Regions from separate parts of the Homo sapiens genome. Here region 2 is linked to region 1. The links are contacts of gene promoters, found by promoter capture Hi-C in blood cells and fetal thymus (Javierre and others, 2016). All regions are on one chromosome and are shown on one strand. The core of a region is centred on a gene start or on the middle of the fragment in contact, and the rest is flanking DNA. Distances in the headings are between cores, read along the strand shown. Region 1 holds the start of CAMTA1-DT (CAMTA1 divergent transcript). Region 2 overlaps CEP104 (centrosomal protein 104).

Region 1 (5,386 bases), core at 1,313-3,812:
CCTTCCAACTTCCTGTGCACTGTATATGTAATGAATGTGATTTCATCTGTGTATACCTACATGTATGTATATGTAAACAAATGAATATAGCATCATGATCTGGTTCTCCAAAGCAGAACCGGAACAGCAAAAAACAGAAAGCATTCAAATTCCCCCTTCTGAAAGCTACAAGATCTAAAGAAATGTCTGGATCCCACAAGAGACAACACCAGAGCCAAAGGAAGGTTCTAGTACAACAAGGAGCACACAAGCAACCTCTTCCAGGATGGCATGTGGGCGACACGGGTGTCTACACTCCCTTTTCTGAATGGAAAGGCATATGGCTTCTCCTTACCCAGCCAACATGAATACAATTTGAGAAAATTAGAAAAAGTCAAAGTAACAGGCTCACTAAATATGGCTGACTGCGAAGCAGAAGCCACAGAGGAGGATATGAGTTCTCTCAAAAAACAATCGGGAAGTTTATATCCAGGAAAGGTTCAAGGACTCTTGAGTGTGGGACGGACAAAGTCTGGTTCTCACTGCACAGAAGACAGTAATCAAAACATCAAAAAACAAGGCCACATGACCCTTTTCCCAGTGAGGTAGTGTCAACTGATGAAGGTTGCCCCCTCCTGAGACACAAGAGTCAAGTGGAGGCAAAAATATACCCCGGTCTTCCTCAGACACAGGAGCAACTAGTGTGGCCCCTTTTCACTCAAGCACTAGGCACAATGGAAGCCCTGCCCTACATCTTATTGGGGCGCCCACTCTCACCCAGACAAGGAACTCCGAGAAGAGAGAACAAGTCAGTGTAGACACACAAATGGCGAAAGGAGCACGGTGAACGTCCAGTTGTCTCCATAAGAAAAGGAGGGCAACTCAAAGGGTATTTAGGAAATGAGCTCGCCCTAACCCAGCAAAGTGTAAGAGTATGCATGATCTGGAAGAAGTGTCTGCTTTCCTATTTAGAAATGACTTCAGAGCTGCACAAGCCCCCACTATCCACTGGGTGAGGAAAGAAGAACATGGGCAGCCTGAGTCCCCTTGTCCTGGCAAAAAGGGTCAACGGAGAGTGTGCAGAGGCCCCAAAAGAATCCAAAGAAGATGAGCAGATCAGACGGACCCCTGTGCCAAGGAAGGATCGGGGTCACGGAAGGTAAAGGGCAAGGGAGTGTGGAGATCCTCACTTGCCATAGAAACGGAGACCCCACCCTCCTGGCTGTGAGGGTGCAAGGGCAAGAGTAGGATGTGAACGACTGCGAGGGGCGGGGATGCTGCGCAGGCCCCCTTCCCTTCCCGGGAAGCGAAGGGGGAGGGGTCACACGAGGCCCTTCGGCCGAGGGACGCTCGGCAGGACGGGGTCCCCCTGGCGGGGAGAAGCTCGGGGACCCCCCGCCCGCTCAGGGAGGTGTCCACGGGGCTGAAGAGGGTGCCGGAGAGAGTACATCTGGCCCTGCCCGCCGGAGAGCAGGGGGCCGGCGAGGGCTGAGCGCCGGCCGCTGCCGCCCGACGGGGACCGGCCCGGAGCAGTGGGGCGCGGGGCCAGGAGGACCCGAGGCGGATAAACTTTCCGCCCCGCGGCCCCCACCGTGGACCCAGCGCCGGGGGTGCGGGGGCCGCGCAGCGGGCTCGGGAGCGGCGGGGATGCCCGGTCCGGGTGGGGGAGGCGCCGGCCCTCCGCCGGCTCCTCCTCCTCGCTGGGCCCGGTCCCCGCCCCGCGAGCCCCCCGCCCCCTCCGGCCCCAGCCCGCCCCCGGGGGTGGGGTGTGGGGCGCCGCGCTCCGCCGGCCCCGCGAGTCACCTCAGGACTCGGCCGCGCTCCGCCCCCCCACCCCGCCGGCCCCCTCCCCGGCCGGGTCGCCCGCCCGCCCGCCCGCCGCGCCCCCGCGCTCCCGCCCGGCGCCGCCGATGCCCGGGATGTCCGGCGGGGCCGGGTCCCGCCGCCCGCCGCGCCGCCCCCCAGCCCCTCGCGCTCCGGCTCTTACCTTCCGGCTTGTTTTCGGCAGCCATTTCCCCTCCGCGCGCCACATCCTCCTCCTCCTCGCGACCGGGACCCCGAGCGCGCGCCTCGTACCGCCGCCGCCGCCGGCCCAGCCACCCCGCCGCCGCCGCGCACCCGCCCTGGCCCCGCCCCGCGGCCCACGCACAGCTCCCGTTGGGCCGTGCGGCTGCCACTCATCGCTCCCGCCGCCAATCGCCCCGCACCAGGGGTCTCACTACTCTCCGGGAGGAGCGTCCTATCCATCCGGCCCATTGGCTGGTCACCACCCAACGGACTGAAAGGATTGGTCAAGAATCAACGCCCCCTCCCCACCCACTCCCAGGAAAGCCCGCCTTCCGGACCTAAACAAAGCTTCCTAGTGGCCAGAACCCGAAAGAACTGTCCAATCAGGACGGGCCCGACACGGAATATTTCCTCGAGGCCGAGACGTGGCGTTTTGATTGGGCGTCACTACAGTGTTTCCCAGGCCGTCCAGACCAATCAAAGGGGGTTCCCGGAACTCGGGAGCGGCGAAGGGAAGCCCCGCCCCCGAGCGTGACCGTCATGAGGAAGGCGCTCCCTCATTGGCACGCTGGGGCTTTTCCCGCGTGCTCCCGGGGCTGAAGGACGTTCCCGGGGAAGCCGCTGCTGGCGCGTGGGGTCCCGGTGGCTGTGGGGGACGCGCCGGGATCTCCGGGATCCCGCAGCCCGCCGCCGCTGCCGGTGGGGAGCCGGACGCGGGGGGCCTCGGGGCTGAGGTCCGCAGGGGTGCCGCGCCCTGGAGTCCGACTGCCTAGGAGTCCGGGCGTCGCTGCCGGCCGTGGGGGAGGGGCGAGCCTCCCGCCAGGCCCCGCCCCCTCGGCGCCGCGTCCCCACGGCCCCGGCGCCGCCCGCCTGCGCCCGCCTCCTGTGCCCGCCCCCGGTGAGCTCCGTTGTCCCCTTTTCTGGCGGCTTAAAATACCGAAACTTTATTTTGGTCACGTTGCCCATGTGACCCGCGGAGCGGATGACTCATGGTTGCCTGTCCCAGGATGAGGCCGCCGGCCGAAAGCAGAGAAGCGCCAGCCCCGGCCGCCCGGGTGGAGCGCTGGGCAGCCGAGTTTCCCACCCTCCTCAATCCGGAGAGTCCGCGCGGGGCTTTTCCTAATAAATAGCCAGGCACCCGCTGCCCTCGCGCTGCGTACGGGAGCACGTGCCCCCCGGGAGGTGGGCGCCCGCCAGGTGCCCCGGGAACGAGCCTAGGAACCGGGTCCGCCGAGTGCGGCTCTCGGGGCGGCTAGGCGTGCGGGTGGCTGGGCAGCGCTCCCAGGGACCGGCCTCTCTCCGGAGAAAGTAAGGAATTCTGCTCCTGGGCAGGTAATACCGGAAACAAAAGGAGAGGCTGCAATCGCAAATTGTTTAAAAAGAAGAAAAAGGAAAGAAAAGTTGAATGTAAGAGCTCCAGCCCCTCAATGTGATCTTGTACGGTTTGCAGTAAGAACATTTCATTCTTCCGCATTTTATTTTTCCTTTTGCTACTGTTGGTGACAACTAGCAAAATAAGTGAAAAATCCTCGTTCAAGTGTTCTGGCATTAAGATTGACTGTCACACTGAATTCTGTGCCAATCCTAACAACATGTGTTCTTTTTCTGGTCTTCACAAGTAAGAATGTCTTAGGTTTTCCAGAAATAAAGATGTCCCAAAAGAATGTTTTGTGTTACACACTCATTCTTCAAGAAACTTTAATTTTATGAGCCTCAAAAATTGCAAAATTTTAACAACGGCGGGACAATATTTTATCGATTAGCATTCTTAATAGCACCTATGTTGACGATTTGTGTGGAGAAACGGATTCTTAAAAGAAGTGCTGGTGGCATTGTAAATTAGTATATTCCTTTCGAAAAGCAATTTTACAGTATGTATTAAAAGCCATAAAAATGTCTGCATCTTTTGACCCAGTGATCTTACTTCTGGGAATCTGTTCTAAGGAAATAACACTAAATGCCAGAAAAGCTGTATGTGTGAAGGTATTCTTCACAGGATCACTGTACTTAACTACAACAAAAAATTGGGAGCATCCTACATGTGCTAATATTGGGTATTTAGTAAATTGTGTTACATCTACACAGTGGAACATTATGGTAGTTGTAGACATCAGAAACAGAAAATCACCCATTGCTAGATAGAGGGGGCAATACCCAAAATTATGGTGTTCATTTATGAGGTGAGATGATAGGCTAAAAAAACTGCATTTTAAAAAAGACCGATACAGGCCGGGTGCAGTGGTTCACGCCTGTCAATCCTAGCACTTTGGGAGGCCAAGGTGGGCAGATCACTTGAAGCCAGGAGTTCGAGACCAGCCTGGCCAGCATGACAAAACCCCGTCTCCACTAAAAATATAAAAATTAGGTGGGCAAGGTGGCAGGCGCCTGAGGTCTCAGCTACTTGGAAGGCTGAGGCAAGAGAATTGCTTGAACCCAGCGGGCAGAGGTTGCAGTGAGCCAATATCGCACCACTGCACTCCAGCTTGGGTGACAAGAGCAAGACTCCACCTCAAAAAAAAAAAAAATAGACTGATAACATACACCAAATAAATGACGTATGGGGGATTATAAGTGAGTTTTTTTTAATTGCCTATTTTCTATAATATAGCTGTTTTTGTTGTTGTTTTTTGGTTTTTTTTTTGTTTTGTTTTTTTGAGATGGAGTTTCACTCTTGTTGTCCAGGCTGGAGTTCAATGGCGCAATCTCGGCTCACCGCAACCTCTGCCTCCCGGGTTCAAGCGATTCTCCTGCCTCAACCTCCAGAGTAGCTGGGATTACAGGCATGCGCCACCATGCTCAGCTAATTTTGTATTTTTAATAGAGACAGGGTTTCTCCATGTTGGTCAGGGTGGTCTCAAACTCCCAACCTCCAGTGATGCGCCTGCCTCAGCCTCCCAAAGTGCTGGGATTACAGGCATGAGCCACCACGCCTGGCCTCTATGTTACTTTTATCATTAAAACACTCATTTAAATTGAAAGAAAGGTGAATAAAGTTGAGTGTCTTCCTTCAAGAGACTCCCAACTTGGCCAGGTTCACAAACATAAGCAGCAGCAGGACAGGTGCGATGGGAACACCGGAGAAGGTCACAAACATCACCTGGGCCTCAACACCATCACCATTGAAATTACCTTAGCCTCAGGCCACAACAGTGGTTCTCAAAACAGTGGTTCTCTAGGGACCTTGGTCGAGCAGAGGGAGCCCCAAGACTCAAGGGACCCAAAAGTCAAAACTTTTTTAGACAGGGTCCTGCTCTGTCGCCCAGGCTGGAGTGCAGTAGTGCCATCAAAGCTCACTGTAGCCTCGAACTCCTGGGCTGCAGTAATCCTCCCACCTCAGCCTCCCCGGTAGCTAGAACCACAAGCATGCACCACCATGCCCAGCTAATTTTTAAGTTTTGTA
Region 2 (5,405 bases), core at 1,974-4,473, 2.9 Mb after region 1:
TATTGCCTTTGGAGAAAACAGTTCCTAATTTATGCCTGTAATAGGTTTTATGTATACTTAGAATAACTACATGGTAAAAGAAACCAGTTACTAAAAGCCGTGAAGTTAGTGTGAGTTCAAAGATCTCAGCAAAATAAAGTTACGGAGACAGATAAGCACTTTAAAAATGTAAATGGAAGCAGAAGCTTTACCTCTTCAGACTCACGTTCAGGTGTCAGGGTCAGCTACCTCGTTACTAGGACCCTGAGCCCAATGGGAAAATAGGAAAACCAGCTATCCTGAAAGTCATAACCAAACCATGAGCTTATTAAATGCCCATACAGCAACAGCAGCCAGACCTTTGCTGAGTGTGGCCCATTCCTTCCATTTCCCTGTGCTCACTCCCTCTCCTTGCAAGACGGTTCACGCGTGATTCTTAAAAATTAGCTTTGCATTTGATGTGAGTTGATCCAAATTTGAAAGAAAAAGCAAATATTTTGTGCTTCAGGTTGGTGAACGCCTTGGGAGGTATGAGGTAGAGAAACGCTGTGCCGTGGAGAAGGAAGACTACGATCTCGCCAAGGAGAAGAAGCAGCAGATGGAGCAGTATCGTGCCGAGGTGTACGAGCAGCTGGAGCTGCACAGCCTCCTGGATGCCGAGCTGGTGGGTGCAGGAGCCCAGACGGAGTGGAGGAAAGCCTAGGAGAACAGAGATTCAACTGTGTGGTTCACAACAGTGGATAGATGTCTTTGAAGTGTAGTGTAAAACACTCTGCAGTGCTCAGGGGACAGTTATGGATGGCCTCAGCTCTGTGCCTACGTCAGGGAGGCTTTGCCTCAGCATGTTCTTTCAGGAGACTCACAGTCGTGGGAAAGGGAACAAACCGGGGTCAGGAAAACCGAGGCCCTGCTGCTTTTCTGCTGCATCCCTTCATCTCTCCAGCTGCTTCCTTATTTGGAAAAGGCAGTGATGACCCTGCCCCACTGACCCCTCAGTGTTGTAAGGATCAAGTGAGAACGTAATGCTAACAGCTTCGGTGTATTGAGAACATATTTCCCATAAGGTGCTCTGCCTCTGATTTTAGAACTCATGCAAATGGGGCACTCAGCCCACGTTACAGATTAGGAAATGAAGGTTCTGAGATACGGAATAGTGATTGAGAGTGCACACTCTCAAGGCCAGGCATGGTGGCTCACGCCTGTAATCCCATCACTTTGGGAGGCCAAGGCTGGAGGATTGTTTGAGCCCAGGAGTTCGAGACCAGCCTGGGCAACATAGAGAGACCCTGTCTCTACAAAAAGTAAGTAATAGCCAGGCCTGGTGGCACACACCTGTAGTCCTAGCTACTCAGGAGAGTGAGACAGGAGGATCACTTGGGCCCAGAAGTTCGAGGCTGCAGTGAGCTACGATCGCACCACTGCACTCCAGCCTTGGTGATGGAGCGAGACCCTGCCTCTGAAAAACAAGAGAGCACACTCTGGAGCTGGACTGTCTGGGTTCAAATCCGGGCACCACCATTCCAGCTCTGTGATCACAGACTAATTCTTATCAGCTTTATGCCTCAGTTTTCCATCAGCTTTCAAATGGGGGTAAACAGAGTAAGCATTAATGAGCCTACCTGTCCAAAACACTCAGTACCATGCCTAGTGTGCAGCAACTGGTCAGTCAGCTTTGCTTGTTGGGATGACACAACATCACTTTCCTTTGTACACACAGTGAATAGCAGTGCCAGATTTTGAATAAAAGTCCACTTGGGTCCAGCCCAGGTGCTTTCTCCACACCACCGTGCTCCTGCAGGGGCACATATGTGTGGACATGCTCCATGCACAAATGCTCATTCCTTCACTAGCATTTTGGATGTGTATGTCACTTTTGTAGTCAACACAGAAATGTGGAGAGACAACTGAGATGAGTGCAACTTGATTGTGTGGGACTTTCAAGTAGATTTCACTCTGTGGAAGTTTCTCTTTGGTTTTGAAATTTTTCATTGTGCCAAGGAGCCTCTTCCAGCACAGCTTTCTAAAGTCTTATTCATCTGAAGGAATGAGATAGATATATCTGGCGTGGCAGTGGCATTTGAAATTAAATGTTCCTTTTTGTTCTCTAGATGCGAAGACCTTTTGATTTGCCCCTCCAGCCCCTCGCTCGTTCTGGCAGTCCTTGCCACCAAAAGCCAATGCCCTCACTACCACAACTGGAAGAAAGAGGAACAGAAAACCAGTTTGCAGAACCTTTCCTTCAGGAAAAGCCTTCATCATATTCTCTAACTATTTCTCCTCAGCATTCTGCAGTAGACCCGTTACTCCCTGCCACAGATCCTCATCCAAAGATCAATGTAGGTAATTCTGTTTCAGATTGGCGTTCAATTTATTTGGGTATTTGTAAAGGACATGTGTTGTGCCAGGTGCTGTTCCCATGCATGGGGTGCATGAGTGCTCCCCAGCCAGACCCACCTCTGTTCCATTCTAGGAGCCATAGTGCTGAGTGAGAGCATAGCCACATAAGGAATAGGCCTAATGACACCTTGTGAGCATGTTTATTAAAATCAGGCTTGATGCTTATTTCTAAGCAATAAACTAAGAAAATATCAGAGATCTTGTCAGAAAAAAAGATGTAATAGCCTTTACTTTAGTAGTCTCCATGTCAGTTGAACTGAAATTGCTACCAGTAAACAGTCATTGAGGTGGAATCTACCTTGCTTTTTTTTATTAGGTCTGTAATGAGTTTAGAAAGTAATAGAAAGCCTCATCTAATCTTTTCAATTACATCCTATTTGTTGTATAAATTATTCTAATCTGATGATACTGATATTTAGCAAAATAACATCTTTCAGATCAGGTAAGTAAGCGCAGTAAGCCTGCCAGTGAGAGTTGCACTGGAGAATGTGACCTATGGAGCTCCCCAGCACTTTCCTCTCTCCTTCACTCACTGCAGGCAGAGTCCCTGCCCTACGATGAGCGGCCTCTTCCAGCTATTCGTAAGCATTATGGGGAGGCAGTGGTGGAGCCGGAAATGAGTAATGCAGACATCAGCGATGCTCGGAGGGGAGGCATGTTAGGGGAGCCAGAGCCCTTAACCGAGAAGGCCTTGAGAGAAGCCAGCTCTGCCATCGATGTGTTGGGAGAAACCTTGGTAAAAAAAAAAAAAAAAAAAAAAAACGGGGTGGCAGAGGGGAGGCTAGTCTATATGGTACGCACACCTCTGTGTACTTACACATAAAGGAGGGAAAACGCCCACGGCTTTGCATTTGTAATATTGTTGACTTCCCTTTGTTCTTCCTGAATTGGAAAGTCTTTTGTTAACTTTTTTTTTTTTTTTTTTTGAGACGGAGTCTTGCTCTTCACCCAGGCTGGAGTGCAGTGGCAAGATCTCCGCTCACTGCAAGCTCCGCCTCCTGGCTTCACCCTGTTCTCCTACCTCAGCCTCCTGAGTAGCTGAGACTACAGGTGCCCGCCACCACGCCTGGCTAATTTTTTGTAATTTTTTTTTAGTAGAGATAGAGTTTCACCACGTTAGCCAGGATGGTCTCGATCTCCTGATCTTGTGATCCACTCACCTTGGCCTCCCAAAGTGCTGGGATTACAGGCATGAGCCACTGCGCCCGGCCTTTTTTTTTTTTTTATGAAACAGAGTGTCACTCTGTCACCCAGGGTGGAGTACAGTGGCGTGATCATAACTCACTATAGCCTTGAACTCCTGGCCTTGGCCTCCCAAAGTGCTGGAATTACAAACATTAGCCACCGTGCCTGCCCTTCTGTAAATTATAAATTATGTGAAACAGCAAAAACATGAGCTAAGATGTATCAGTGAGTACTCATTTCAGCCTGGGTGTTTCCTTCTGGCATTCATGGAGCTTGTATTAAACAACTGCTCCCTTCTGAATACCAGCTAATTCCAGCGCAAAAGGATGGCATAGCAAAAGATGGAAGTATCTCCTTATAGAAATGAGTAGAGTTGGCCAGGCGCAGTGGCTCACGCCTATAATCCCAGCACTTTGGGAGGCCAAGGCGGGTGGATCACGAGGTCAGGAGTTCAAGACCAGCCTGGCCAAGATGGTGAAACCCCATCTCTACTAAAAATACAAAAATTAGCTGGGCATGGTGTCAGGCACCTGTAATCCCAGCTAGCTGGAAGACTGAGGCAGGAGAATTGCTTGAACCCGCAGGGGGACAGAGGTTGCAGTGAGCCGAGCCACTGCACTCCAGCCTGGGCGACAGAGTGAGAGTTTGTCTCAAAATAAAAAGAAATGAGTAGGGTTTTCCCTCGTTCTCAGCTTTAAAATATTTCTCTTGGAGAATTTAATACTTTTTATATTTTAACATAGTCTTAAATTTCCTTATCAGAGAAAATTATTTCTCTAAATATACATATTTATTTGTAAAAGTTCTATTATTAGAAATGAATCATTTTCATTTATAAAAGTTCTGTTCTTAGAAATGAATCATTTTAGTTAAAAAAAAAACAAAGCCTTCAAGTTGTGTAGTGTTGGAGGATGGTTGTGTGATGCCATGAAATGCTGCCTGTTTTGTGGTAGGTTGCTGAGGCCTATTGTAAGACGTGGTCCTACCGAGAGGATGCACTGCTTGCCTTGTCTAAGAAGTTAATGGAAATGCCTGTTGGAACCCCAAAAGAAGATTTAAAGAACACACTGAGAGCATCCGTCTTTCTCGTTAGAAGAGCCATAAAGGACATTGTGACCTCCGTGAGTGCCCTCAGCTGGCGCTGGCTCCAGCGTGCATGGATGAGATCATGCGCCGTACCACAGAAGACCAGAGCAGCTTGAGAGAGGACCAGTTGGTCATTGACGTGGTCACCAACTGTAACTCAATAGAATCACTAAGAAATGAGGTTCTCTAGCAAGAGCTATACTGTGCAACTGATCTTACATGAAGGGTCTGGGAAATCTGCCTTTGCTTGGGTCATTGTCTCTGGTCTCCAGCAGTGTTAGCTTTTCCATGGTCTGCAAAGCCAGGCGTTTGTAGAGGCCTAGTTCAATGCTACCACATCTTCAGTTTGTGTTTTCACTTTGCATGAAACCTGATGAGGTTGAGAATTACTGTTTTTTCTAATGCTGAATGGGCCTTAAGAATGGACATTGCACAGTTGGGCTTCTAACAGCCCACTGAAGCAGGGCTGTTAGATACTCAGTATGAAGGGAAGATTTGGGCTTACCCATTGAAGCAGGGATGTTAGATACTCGGTATGAAGGGAAGATTTGGGCTTACCCATTGAAGCAGGGTTGTTAGATACTCGGTATGAAGGGAAGATTTGGGCTTACCCATTGAAGCAGGGATGTTAGATACTCGGTATGAAGGGAAGATTTGGGCTTACCCATTGAAGCAGGGATGTTAGATACTCGGTATGAAGGGAAGATGGGGAGTGATTTCTGACAGAGTGAAGTAAGAGCATATGTCCTCTATATGCA

Evidence for each region. Contacts are between HindIII fragments. The CHiCAGO score rates a contact against its expected background, and 5 or more counts as called.
Region 2: a fragment that was not itself captured here is called in contact with the fragment with the promoter of CAMTA1-DT in region 1 in 1 of 17 cell types (neutrophils); the score reaches 5.3 in neutrophils.

The regions. Positions count from the first base shown.
Region 1 is chr1:6,782,156-6,787,541 of GRCh38, reverse strand. CAMTA1-DT (CAMTA1 divergent transcript) reads left to right here and starts at 2,562. Exons shown (of 3, transcript NR_149049.1): 1 at 2,562-2,884; 2 at 3,319-3,393; 3 at 3,497-3,650. It overlaps CAMTA1 (calmodulin binding transcription activator 1), which reads right to left and starts at 2,088. Exons shown (of 23, transcript NM_015215.4): 1 at 1,967-2,088. The coding sequence starts at 2,011. RefSeq lists silencers at 1,336-1,515, 1,526-1,795, 2,006-2,165, 2,506-2,915, 3,046-3,105 and 1 more and enhancers at 2,371-3,045, 3,046-3,722. The HindIII fragment of the contact is 4,377 bases long and covers 2,337-5,386 here.
Region 2 is chr1:3,834,202-3,839,606 of GRCh38, reverse strand. CEP104 (centrosomal protein 104) reads left to right here. Exons shown (of 22, transcript NM_014704.4): 8 at 488-643; 9 at 2,088-2,315; 10 at 2,915-3,112; 11 at 4,515-4,682. Among named protein-coding and RNA genes, the nearest start is that of CEP104, 20 kb to the left of the region's middle. RefSeq lists an enhancer at 271-770. The HindIII fragment of the contact is 6,071 bases long and covers 188-5,405 here.